Linked DNA regions of Homo sapiens: all the other regions are linked to region 2. Evidence: promoter capture Hi-C in 16 types of primary human blood cells and fetal thymus (Javierre and others, 2016). All regions are on one chromosome and are shown on one strand. The core of a region is centred on a gene start or on the middle of the fragment in contact, and the rest is flanking DNA. Distances in the headings are between cores, read along the strand shown.

The links. The method cuts DNA at HindIII sites, captures the fragments that hold promoters and counts their contacts. A CHiCAGO score of 5 or more calls a contact.
Region 1: a fragment that was not itself captured here is called in contact with the fragment with the promoter of CFAP161 in region 2 in 1 of 17 cell types (megakaryocytes); the score reaches 5.5 in megakaryocytes.
Region 3: a contact is called between a fragment that was not itself captured here and the fragment with the promoter of CFAP161 in region 2, in 1 of 17 cell types (megakaryocytes). The highest score is 6.1, in megakaryocytes.

The regions. Positions count from the first base shown.
Region 1 is chr15:80,992,562-80,996,198 of GRCh38, reverse strand. No RefSeq gene overlaps it. Among named protein-coding and RNA genes, the nearest start is that of MIR4514, 3.1 kb to the left of the region's middle. The HindIII fragment of the contact is 7,858 bases long and covers 1-3,637 here.
Region 2 is chr15:81,131,944-81,136,032 of GRCh38, reverse strand. It overlaps CFAP161 (cilia and flagella associated protein 161), which reads right to left and starts at 1,763. Exons shown (of 7, transcript NM_173528.4): 1 at 1,635-1,763; 2 at 674-763. The coding sequence starts at 1,703. The HindIII fragment of the contact is 5,504 bases long and covers 1-1,991 here.
Region 3 is chr15:81,265,419-81,269,361 of GRCh38, reverse strand. It overlaps IL16 (interleukin 16), which reads right to left. Exons shown (of 19, transcript NM_172217.5): 4 at 3,561-3,703. Among named protein-coding and RNA genes, the nearest start is that of STARD5, 57 kb to the left of the region's middle. The HindIII fragment of the contact is 3,577 bases long and covers 1-3,038 here.

The DNA.
Region 1 (3,637 bases), core at 571-3,070, 140 kb after region 2:
CCTGGTTCACCAGGGAGCAAGATCACTGTCTAACACCTCGCTCTCCTTACCTGGCATGTCCTCTTGCTCTCTGGCATATTTTGTTCCCATCCAGTAAGAACACCTGGGCAGTACCTCACACATCACTCCCATTTCCTCCCCAGCCCCACTTTCCACCCTCCCTTCCTCCCTCCATGCTTTCTCTCTGTTCACCTGCAGCTGGGTGTGTGAGGGAGCCCTGTGTGCTGGACCAGTTATACCTTGGCAGGCACACCTGAGCATGCAGGTCCTGAAGTCTAGGAGAGCTGGAATTTTCTGCATTAGTTTACCAGAGCACCCTCCATGGAGGCAAAGTTTGCTTGCACAGATTAATAAATTCTGTACCCCATTCATTTACTGGCCAGCCATCTTTGGATGTATTTTCTATTTTCCAGCATCCTGAAGAAGAGAAAAAACAAGTGCTAAGTTTCAGGCACCCTGGTCTTAACACTAATCATGCCTGACCAAGTTTTGACATCTCTCATGGTGCCTAGTAGTCAGTAACTACAGAGTGATTAGATGTATTGGTGCCTCACAAGGAGGTTCCCTGATCTTTCAGACAGACCCAGGTATTTCTTCCCCCCCTTGTAGCTACTATGATGCCTGCTCAGCTTCAGAGTGGCGTCAAGTACTTGTAACTGTTGGTGTAACTCTCTCCACAACCCTATCATCTCTGTAAGGGCAGGGACTTGATCTATGCATCTTTCCCCCACATTTAATGTATTCAGTGTTTATGGCATTAATAAGTTAATGAATTATTTTATCTGTTAAGTCTCTGTGCAAGAAAGGTGCCCTTTTATTGAACCAAACTCTGGCTGCTCACAACTTTTATTCAGTAACGGACAGAAAGTCATGGATATTCATGAAACAACAGCAGGGGTACAGTCTAGGTCTGGTCATGACCTAACAGCTCACAACTCTTAAGATTGAAGGGGAGGCCTGAGGCCTGTTTGCTTAGCAAGTGTGTTCACCTCATTTTTCTTACAGCTTGTTTGAGATAGTCCAGGGAGGTGATTCTTTGGAAACAGACTGAATTTTCTGAACATAACTGCATATATCTGTGCTGCAAAGTACATGTAATTTTTTCAGATGACACAGATAAAAGTCCTGCCTTCTTCAGAGATTCAGATCTCATCCCCAAATTTTCAAGGCCATTGCACTATTGTAGATAATTTGAATTACATGTATTATTCTGATAATTTCCATTGAAATTAGACTTTTCACCCTTACATATTGGTGGAAAGAAGGGTATCAATTCACATTTTGTAAGCAGCAGTGTGTTTATGTGTGTCTCTCCTTTTAAAGCACAAGTGGGCCAGGCGCGGCAGTTCCCGCCTATAATTCCAGCACTCTGGCAGGGCGAGGTGGATGGATCACTTGTGCCCAAAAGTTCTAGACCAGCTTGGGCAACATGGTGAAAACCCATCCTTTAAAAAAAAAAAAATGCACTTTGGGAGGCCAAGGCGGGTGGATCACGAGGTTAGGAGTTCAAGACCAGCCTGGCCAACATGGTGAAACCCCTGTCTCTACTAAAAATACAAAAATTAGCCGGACATGGTGGCATGTGCCTGTAATCCCAGCTACTCAGGAGGCTGAGGCAGGACAATTGCTTGAACTGGGGCCCGGGAGGCAGAGGTTGCAGTGAGCTGAGATCGCACCACTGCACTCCAGCCTGGGCTACACAGTGCAACTCTGTCTCAAAAAAGAAAAAAAAATGCAAAAATTAGCCAGGTGTGGTATGGGAGGCTGAGGCGGGAGGATCCCTTGAGCCTGAGAGGTGGAGGTTGCAGAGAGCCAATATCTGGCCGCTGCACTCCAGTCTGGGTGACAGAGCAAGACCCTGTCTCAAAAAAACAAACAAACAAAAACAACACACCACCACTGACGTATGTTAGATGTGAAGAAAAATAGAAAATACAGAGAAAAGGTTAAAATATTTTGGAATCTCACTGCTTAGAGACAGCCATCGTATACATATTTGCAGCTCTTTTCCTATACATAGATATATATCTGTATAATTTTAATAGCATTTAAAATCATATAGTATAAAATGAATATCTTTAGTAGCAACAAATATATATATTTGATTGCATATTATCCATCATATGTGTGGAATACAGCTTGCAACTGTAAATGTAGATTTTATAGTCTACAATTTTTGAAACACTTAGAGTTGTTCTCATTTTCCCCACTCATGGAGAGTGTTATAGGATTGTTACATTGGGTAAGTGAAGAAATACACGGAAAGCACTCAGCAGAATGCCTGTCGAATAGTAAGTGCTCAATATTAACATTACTATTATTTTCATTGTCTGTTTCCTCAGAGTCAAGTTCTTGGAAGTAGACTTGCTAATCATATTATGCACTTTTTTGTGGGGAGGGGGAGTTGATACATTTCACCTAATTTTCAAGCAGAAAACTCCATCCCCCGAGAAGTGAGTGAGAAGACTTCTTTCCTTAGCCTTGTCAACAGTGTATACTGTCTGTATTTTTATCCAGGATCAACTGATAATTTAAAAATTATAACATGTTTGAATTTGCATTTTTTGATATTAGAGAGATTCTGTGTTTTGTTTTGTTTTTGCCACATGTGAACTGGCCATTTATATTTATTCTTTTGGGAATTACCTATTCATGTCCTAGACCGTTTTTCATTTGGTTGTTCATCTTTTTCTTATTGATTTATAAGTTGTTTTTTTTTTTTGGAGACAGAGTGTTACTCTGTCACCCAGGCTAGAGTGCAGTGGCACAACCTCGGCTCACTGCCACCTCTGCCTCCCGGGTTCAAGCAATTCTCCTGCCTCAGCCTCCCGAGTAGCTGGGATTACAGGTGCATGCCACCACACCCAGCTAATTTTTGTATTTTTAGTAGAGACGGGGTTTCACCATCTTGGCCAGGCTGGTCTCAAACTCCTGACCTCAGGCGATCTGCCCGCCTCAGCCTCCCAAAGTGCTGGGATTATAGGCATGAGCCACCATGCCCAGCCAGGAAAACACAATTTTAATTATTATGTTTAACTCTGTGAGTATGCTCTTCTGCCCAAAAATAATGGTGGTGACCAGGAATGGACACCTGCCTCAGACTGGGCCAGTCACATTCTCTACTGAAAATCTGAAATTCCAACAAAAGGCAACGAGTTAGTTGCTACCAATATTTAGCAACTACAATGAATGATTCGTGTCTATGTAATTAAATTTTTTAAGTGAGTAAATTTAGGGGCTGGTAAAACCCAGGAAGTATGCAGTACGTCTATTCTTACATTGGATTAAAAAGCAACAAAAGTGCAAAATGGTAAATACTCATTACCTCTCTCAGCCCATCCCCAGGCCTCTCCTCCTATGCCTTCCCATGAGTCAGTCATTAGAGGGTTAATGTTTGGCACAATGGTGACTGTACCCATCAGCTCATCTGCCTCAGTTCTGATTAACTGGTAATTGTGCTACTCCAGTTTTTCAACATTTTGAATATTACCCCCGCCTGCTTCCAAATAGTACTAGAAAGTCTTGCTTCACCCTCCTCTGTTGTGGAATGATGCATGCCAGGATGAGCTCAGGTTAAGACACTAATTAGATCTGAGATTCAACTTTACCATCCACAGTCACTGAATCACTTAGAGGT
Region 2 (4,089 bases), core at 514-3,013:
TCAACAGAATTTTGAAAACAATGTCTGAATTTAAAGTTACCGGTCTCAATAAACATACGTGTGCATGTGTCTTTATAGCAGCATGTTTTATAATCCTTTGGGTATATACCCAGTAATGGGATGTCTGGGTCAAATGGTATTTCTAGTTCTAGATCCCTGAGGAATTGCCACACTGACTTCCACAATGGTTGAACTAGTTTACAGTCCCACCAACTGCGGCACTATTCACAATAGCAAAGACTTGGAACCAACCTAAATGTCCAACAACGATAGACTGGATTAAGAAAATGTGGCACATATACACCATGGAATACTATGCAGCCATAAAAAATGATGAGTTCATGTCCTTTGTAGGGACATGGATGAAGCTGGAAACCATCATTCTGAGCAAACTATCGCAGGGACAGAAAACCAAACACCGCATATTCTCACTCATAGGTGGGAATTGAACAATGGAGAACACATGGACACAGGAAGGGGAACATCGCACACTGGGGCCTGTTGTGGGGTGGGGGGAGGGGAGAGGGATAGCATTAGGAGATATACCTAATGTTAAATGACGAGTTAATGGGTGCAGCACACCAACATAGCATATGTATACATATGTAACAAACCTGCACGTTGTGCACATGTACCCTAAAACTTAAAGTGTAATAAAAAAAAAAAAAGTTACCGGTCTCAAGAGATTCTGTTTTAGTCTTCTACTTCTCTGTATGAGAAGTTTCCCCTTGTCTCTCTTCTCTAAGAAGTCTTTCATGAGCTCCTAAACAGAAAATCAACAAAAGTAGCCCTGAATAATATAGATGTTAGTATTAATAACTTTTAGGTCAGAAGCTCTTCCAAGTTGAAAAAGCAAAATTTGAGTACAAAAAAAGAGATGTGAGCATAATTGGAATGATGGAACGTTTTTAGCACTACTTTAATATTTTTACTACATTATAGAATGTTTAGAAAAATGAGAAAGGCAAAACAAAGAAAAAGAAACATCACCAGTAATTACTCCAGCCAGATACCATCCTAAATGACATTTGGAGGCCATGTCTCCCCTGCTGGGGTTTCCCTTGACCGTATGATGACTGACACTAGAAAGTTCACCCCTCCCCAATCTGACCCGTATACGAATGGCTCAAAGCCTTGTTAAGACCACCCTTGGGAGAATACGAGGCAGTGAGTGAGTACAACGTCAATAAAAGGAATACTCAGGGTCATTTAAGAGGGCAAGCGTGGCAGGGTTGGAGTGGGGAGGGATATTATTTCTACCTAGAACCTGTGTCCTCACCTGGCCCGCAGCCTGAGACTGTAAGACTCTAAGGAATACGGGGGACTTAGTGGGGCTCTAGACTAAGCGGGAGACACAGGCCAGGGGCTTGAGAGTCAAGGCATCTGACTTTGGGAGGCCAAGGGACCCAGAGAAAGAAAAGTCAGGGTGCTCGGAGTAGAGGTCAGTGAGACCTGGGTTTGCAGTTCGGCAGGTGAGATTCCTTGGGAGTTTAGAGAAGTGGGGGATTTTAGAGGTATTCGCTGTATGCTGGGAGAGAGAGGAGGCTTGAGGCGCTCAAAGTAGGAGACTGAACTTAGAGCAGGGTCTGGGAGTTCCTGAGCTGCGGGTCTGCGCCTGGCCACACCCTGCGTACCTCCTCCAGGTAGACATCCTCATTCCAGTTGCCTATCCGGACTCCCGGACCATACACGTTCTGCGCCATCGCTCCCTGCTGTTCAGCAAGTGGGCCTCCCTCCGACACCATGCGTTAGCGTGGCGCGTCGCCATGACGACCCGGCCCCAGGCGATTGGTCAAGGTCTGGGACCCTGCTGGCCAATAAGCGACAGCGCGCACCCTCGCCCTGGGGCGGGAGATGGGGCGTCTGGGTCAGCGGCTGTCTGTGGCCCTCCAGCCCGCCCCACTTCCACCTCTTAGATTTCCTTAACTGCAGGGTGGGCGAGAGGGAAAACCCTGGCTGACAAAGTGCTTCCGAGAGAGAAATTTAAAGCTTTCTTTCTATTAGAATCTAACCGAAAAGTGCTATCGAGTACCCCTTGCTTGTCGAGGCAACAAAGAGGAGCTTTTAAATGGAAGCACGGCTTGCTTGCAGCCTATTTTTTGTAATCAGCAGCAGCAGCAGCAGCAGCAGCAGCAGCAATTTCGCCCTAATCATAAAACAATACCTGCTCAATGTACACATTTGGAAACCAAAATCGCATAGAAAGAAGAAAGGAAAATTAATAATTTCAGGGCCTTAAAAGTAAGAAATATACCATGTTAGTATATTTCTGTTTATAGGTTTCTGAGGTTGTCCATATTTTTGCGGACTTGACAGCATCCTCCCTCCCTCCCTCCCTTGCTCCCTCCTTCCCTGGGTCTCAAAGTTAAAGGACGAACCTGTGATTTGCAGGAACTCTTAAGAAAACCAGACTCTGCTGTAGCCAGCATTAATAAAACAAAATATTATTTTCTGGGGAGGGGAGGGATACCAGTTACTGTAGGACTACCGGAGGCTTGATGCAGATTGAATGCATTCAGTAATTTACCTCTATTTAGTGTCTAGTAAGACATGACTGAAATGGAAGACAGGAGCCTCCGCTCCCTTCAGCAAACCCAGTCTAAAAGAAAAGATAGTTCATGAAAACGAATTACTTAAGGAAGACTGTGGAAAAATGCAATTAAAGATGTGCTGATGGGCTGGCGTGGTGGCTCAAGCCTATAATCCAGCACTTTGGGAAGCCGAGGCAGGAGGATCACTTGAGCCCAGGAGTTCTAGACCAGCCTGGGCAACATAGTGAGACCCCATCTCCAATTTAAAAAAAAATACATATATATATATATATATATATATATATATATATATATATATATATATGCTGATGAAGGGCCATGGAGTTGAAGGATCCTTTCTGTCTTGAGGAACTGTGAGAATGGGAATTGGATGGCCTTTGAGTGATGGGAGAGGGGCTGCTTTGGAGCTGAACTGGGAAGGATTTGAACTGGCAGGCTGAAGTGTAGAATAAAAATAGGAACATTCCCACATTCTGATGAATCCACCAGCTCTGTCAATATATCACCACATTCGAGGATACTTCTGAAGGACACATAGGACAAAGCAGTTAGATCAGATAGTATACCACTAACTGCATTTGATAAATTCAGAAACTGAGACTCAAAGAAGCTAGCAGTCTAAATTCAAACTGCTAAAAGTTGCTCAAAGAAAGGACTCAGTCCAAACTTTCCGACTCCAAAGTCATGTTTGTTTGTTTTTCCTTTTAAGTATTTTTCATATTCCTCATAAAATCAAGAATAAAACAAAGCAGCTCTAGTCTCTACATTTTTAACAAGGTTCTAATGATTGGGTCATTCAGTAAGTCCTTACACTGATACAGCTTTGCTCCCACCTACTTCCTTAGTGCTATTTTTGACAAGTATATTACATTTCTATATATAATAGACCCAATAATACAATTATACATAGTGTTTTATACAATTGCTTTAAATCACTCAGGAGAAGAAATATCTTTATTGGTGCTCTATGGTATTTTTCTATGAACACAAATTACTGCTTTGTGTTGTTTTCAACCTGAATAACTTCCTTCCATATTTCTTATAAATCAGGTCTGCTAGCAACACATTCTCTTGGTTTTTGCTTACCTTAATAAGATGCTTTTTCTGGATACATGATTCTTTGTTGATAGCGTTTTTTTCTTTCTTTCAATATTTTAAATATGCCATCCTACTACCTCTGGACTCCCTTATTTCTTTTTCTTCCAAGACAGAGTCTCACTCTATCAACCTGGCTGGAGTACAGCAGCACAATCTCGGCTCACTGCAACCTCTGCTTCCCAGGTTCAAGCAATTCTCATGCCTCAGCCTCCTGAGTACCTGGGGCTAAAGGCATGTGCCACCATGCCTGGGTAATTTTTGTATTTTTAGTAGAGATGGGGTTTTACCAGGTTGGCCAGGCTGGTCTTGAACTCCTGACCTCAAGTGATCGGCCCTCCTCAGCCTTCCAAAGTGCTGGGATTACAGGCATAAGCCACCCTGCCCAGCCATGGCCTCCATTATTTCTGATGAGAAATCAGCTATTAATCTTATTTTGCTT
Region 3 (3,943 bases), core at 1-2,500, 130 kb before region 2:
GGGACTTCCTTGGTTCTAGGAGCCTGCTTTGCTGAGCCTGATGTAGATGAGCAGCCAAAAGGCTCACTAAGGTTTATCAAGGAAGTAGGGCCCAGGTTAACATCACAGAACACGCTGCCTCCAGGACAAGTCCTCATAAGCCAGGTCTCAGGCAGAATTTGGGAAGCCAGCTACCAAGAACGCCCTGAGACTATGTTCAATCCAAGACACATTTACTGAGAACTCCCCTTGTGCCAGGCAGGAGGTGGTGGGCAAGGGGGCGGAGCCCAAAGACTTCAAAACTCAGAATGTAATTTTGGGGTAGGCAGACAGGCTTAACTATTCATGAATGAGAACCAGAGCTATGTGCCACAGGAAGCCGCCCTGCAGAGGGGAAATACGGCTTAGTGGTGAGAGCTTAGACTTGGGAACCCCATTGTCTGGGTTCTTCTGACTCTGCCCATTATCAGCTGGCGGGTGACCTTAGCTTAGTGACTTAGCCCTCTCTGCCTCAGTTTCCTCAGCTGTAAAAGCATGGTCCTAATGGGGCCTATCTAATAGTGTCATTTTGAAGAATAAATCTATGCGAGTGCTTAAAATGGTGCCCGACACATAGCAAGTGCCTTAGAAATGTTTCTTGTCATTATTATAAATTCTAAGACTGTTTGCTACTTTCAGCATTTAATATTTGGAAAGAGTCTGGGGCTGAAGGCTGTGCTTCCTGCATGTCCACGAAAGCAGACACATCAGCTGTGAATGTGGAGGTAGCTGCTTGCTCCCTGCTCTCTGATATCGGAGATGCCGCAAGGCAGAACCAGGATCCCGGGCTGCTGACTCCCAGGCCCATGCTGTCCCCATGCCACCTGGGCAGAGGAAGCAGCAGGGCATGGGCTCTGAGCTGCCTGTGTTCATATCCATCCTGTTGCTATGAATTAGATGACCTTCGGAAGGCCACTTAACTTCTCTCAGCCTGGCCTCTGTATCTGTCAAAGGTGGATATTAACAGTACTTAGCTCTTTGGGTTGTACTCCCTTGGCTGTATAGCTGTTTGTAAAACACATCGCCTCATGCCTGGAAGGCAGCGAACATGGAATGCATGTTTTCTTTATTACTAGCATTCCCTGGATAACGAGCTGCTCTTCTCTGGATCACCCTCTCTCTTGTTGGCTTGCAGTTGCCCACACCTGATGGGCCGCTCTCTCCAAAGTCACCCAGGAAATACCCAGGTCCTGTAAGCCACTCCCTGGCCTTCCCGTCCACTGTGGATCCCACTTTCTCTTCTTCTCTCCCAGAAACAACCTTCCTCTGATAACTCCCTCTCCTCCTCCTTTGGAGGGCTGTTATGAAGACAATGTGAAATCACGCATGGACATCCGTGGTGGTTAATTTTCTGTGTCCACTTGACTGGGCCACATGGGTGCCCATATATTTAGTCAACCATTATTCTGTGTGTGTCTATGAGGGTGCTTTGGAATGAGATGAGCATTGAAATCTGTAGCCAAAGCACATCACCTGCCCTGATGCAGGTGAGCCTCATCCAATCTGCTGAAGTCCTGAATAGAGAAAAGACAGACCTCCCCTGAGTTAGAAAGCATCCTTCGTGCGTGACTGCCTTTGAACTAGGACATCAGCCTTTTTCCTGTCTTTATATTCCAACTGAAAAATCAGCCCTTCCTGGGCTTGAGCCTGCTGGCCTTTGGATGGGAACCACACCATTGGCTCTCCTGGTTCTCAGGCCTTTAGACTCTAATTAGGTCTAAACCATAGGCTTCCCTGGGTCTCCAGCTTGTCAATTCATGCTAAAGATCTTGGAACCTGCCTACCTTCATAATCCCATAAACCAACCAATTCATTATGATCAGTCTCTCGCTCTCTCTGTGTGTGTGTGTGTGTGTGTGTGTGTCTGTGTATGTGTGTCTGCGTATGTGTATGTGTGTCTATCTATACATCTCTTATTGGTTCTGTCTCCAACTAACATAGTGTCTAATTGCCTCCTAAACTTTGAGGAGTTGAGTAGAGGGAATAACTGAGTCTCCCACTCCTGTCCCCAAAACACTGCCAATCTCCTGAAGCACTCCTTCCTGGTGGAATGTAACCCCTCAATTCTCTTCAGCACAGCCTCCCAGGCAGCTACTACTGGCTGATCTTTAGCCCATCCCTGCTGGCCAGGTAGGCCTCCTGTTCCCAAGGACCTGGATCCTAGTGCATGAGGCAGCAAAGACAGGAAGCAGCTTCCCCCAGGAAGTACCCGCTAGCCCAATCCTCAGGGACCCAGCGCTGGCTGCAGATATTGGAGGGCTCCAGTGTACTCCTGTATGACCCCAGATGTGCAGAAAACCAGGGACTGGGAAAGTTCTCAGCTCAGGGTGGCACCAGGGAAGCCACCTTCTTCTAACACTAGGACACCACACTCCCAGTTTGGGAATGAAAAACACATTGACTCAAGGAAAGGAAGGGAAGAGAGAGATGAAATTCACTGAGCATCTATTATGTACTATGCAGGGAAACATTGCTTGACCGTGGAGACCCTCCTTGGGAGAGTCAGTTGGTGAGATGAAATGCTAACATAAATGACACTCACAAGACAGGCTGGGTGAGCACTGTGAGAGGAGTGCAGTTGCTTCCTGATGGGCATTTGGGAAAATGTGAAGTCCACGCCTTTGGAGAGATCAGGAGCTTTCCCAGGCAAAAGAGAACCTTAGGAAGGTTTTTGAAGGCTGGGGCAGTTTCTAGAGATAGAGATCAGAGAAGGAGGGGTGAGATGCTACAGACAGAGGGCGCTGTGTGACCAAAAGTGGCAGCGTGCAGCACAGCGTGCTTTGGCTGGGGCTGAAAGGCAAGCTGGTGGGACGTGTGTAGGGTACACTGTGCTTTATATCTGCTTAGCTCTCTGCCTGCAAGCTGACACCTGTAGTGGGAAGGTCATGGACTGAGGAGCACACAGGGCAGTTTAAATTCTGGTCCTATAGGTTTTAAGATGCATAAACCCAGCTACTCACTTTGCCAAGCCTCAGTGTCCTACTATAAAATGGGACTAACAACATATTCCTTTCTAAGCTTGTTTTAAGAATTAGAGGCAATGTTGGTAAAGCAGGTCACTAGATTATAGGAGTGAAAAGCCTTTTCGCACAGGCTTCAGAGTCATAAAGATCAGACTTGAAGTCCCAGCTGTTTCTCCTCAACAGTGTGAATGTGCATAAATCCTTTAACTTGCCCAAGCTGTAGCTCCCTCTTCTACCTCTTAGGAGTATGTGCAGATGAAATAAAGCGATCCACGCAAAGCCATAGTTCAGGGTCCCCCCGCGTGCCGTGTTCTCTACATGTTAGCTCTTAATAGCACACACGTGGCAGCAGTTGCAAGTGCCTGGCACAAGGGGGCGCTCAATGGATGACCATTTCTAATGCGGTTCTCAGCCCAGAGATGGTTGTACCTTCTTGCAGCTACTAAGCGAGACCCTCTCCTCTGTAGTTCTGCGGACAAAAAAACTACTGGGAAGGCCTCTTCAGCCACTGTTAATGTTGGGCCCCTCCCTTCTCCCCGGGAGAAACTCTTCTCTGAGTTTCCCTCCTTCCATTCTTACCGCAGCCTTTCCTGCTGGACAGTCCAATTGTTGAGAGAGGGACTTCCTGTTACTGCAGAGAGAGTAAGGCTGCCTGTCCGTGGGCGCTGCAGATTTCTTGGTCATTGGAAAATCAATTTCTCTTGTGCAATAGGGATTAACACCTAAACCAGAAGAGGAAAAACAGCAAGAAATCATTTGTGCTCTCAAAATGCAAAGTTCAACTAAGAACAATATCAGCCCCTCATTAGCCAGGGGCCAGTGTGACTGTAAACCACTTAACACCCTGTGCCAGGTGCGTGGTGGGGAGAGGTGGCCGCGGAAGACATGAGCAGCATTGTCATGATCTCCACGCATGCTGTCTGTACTGCAGGGTGCAGATGGGACTCTCACTTCCATTTTAC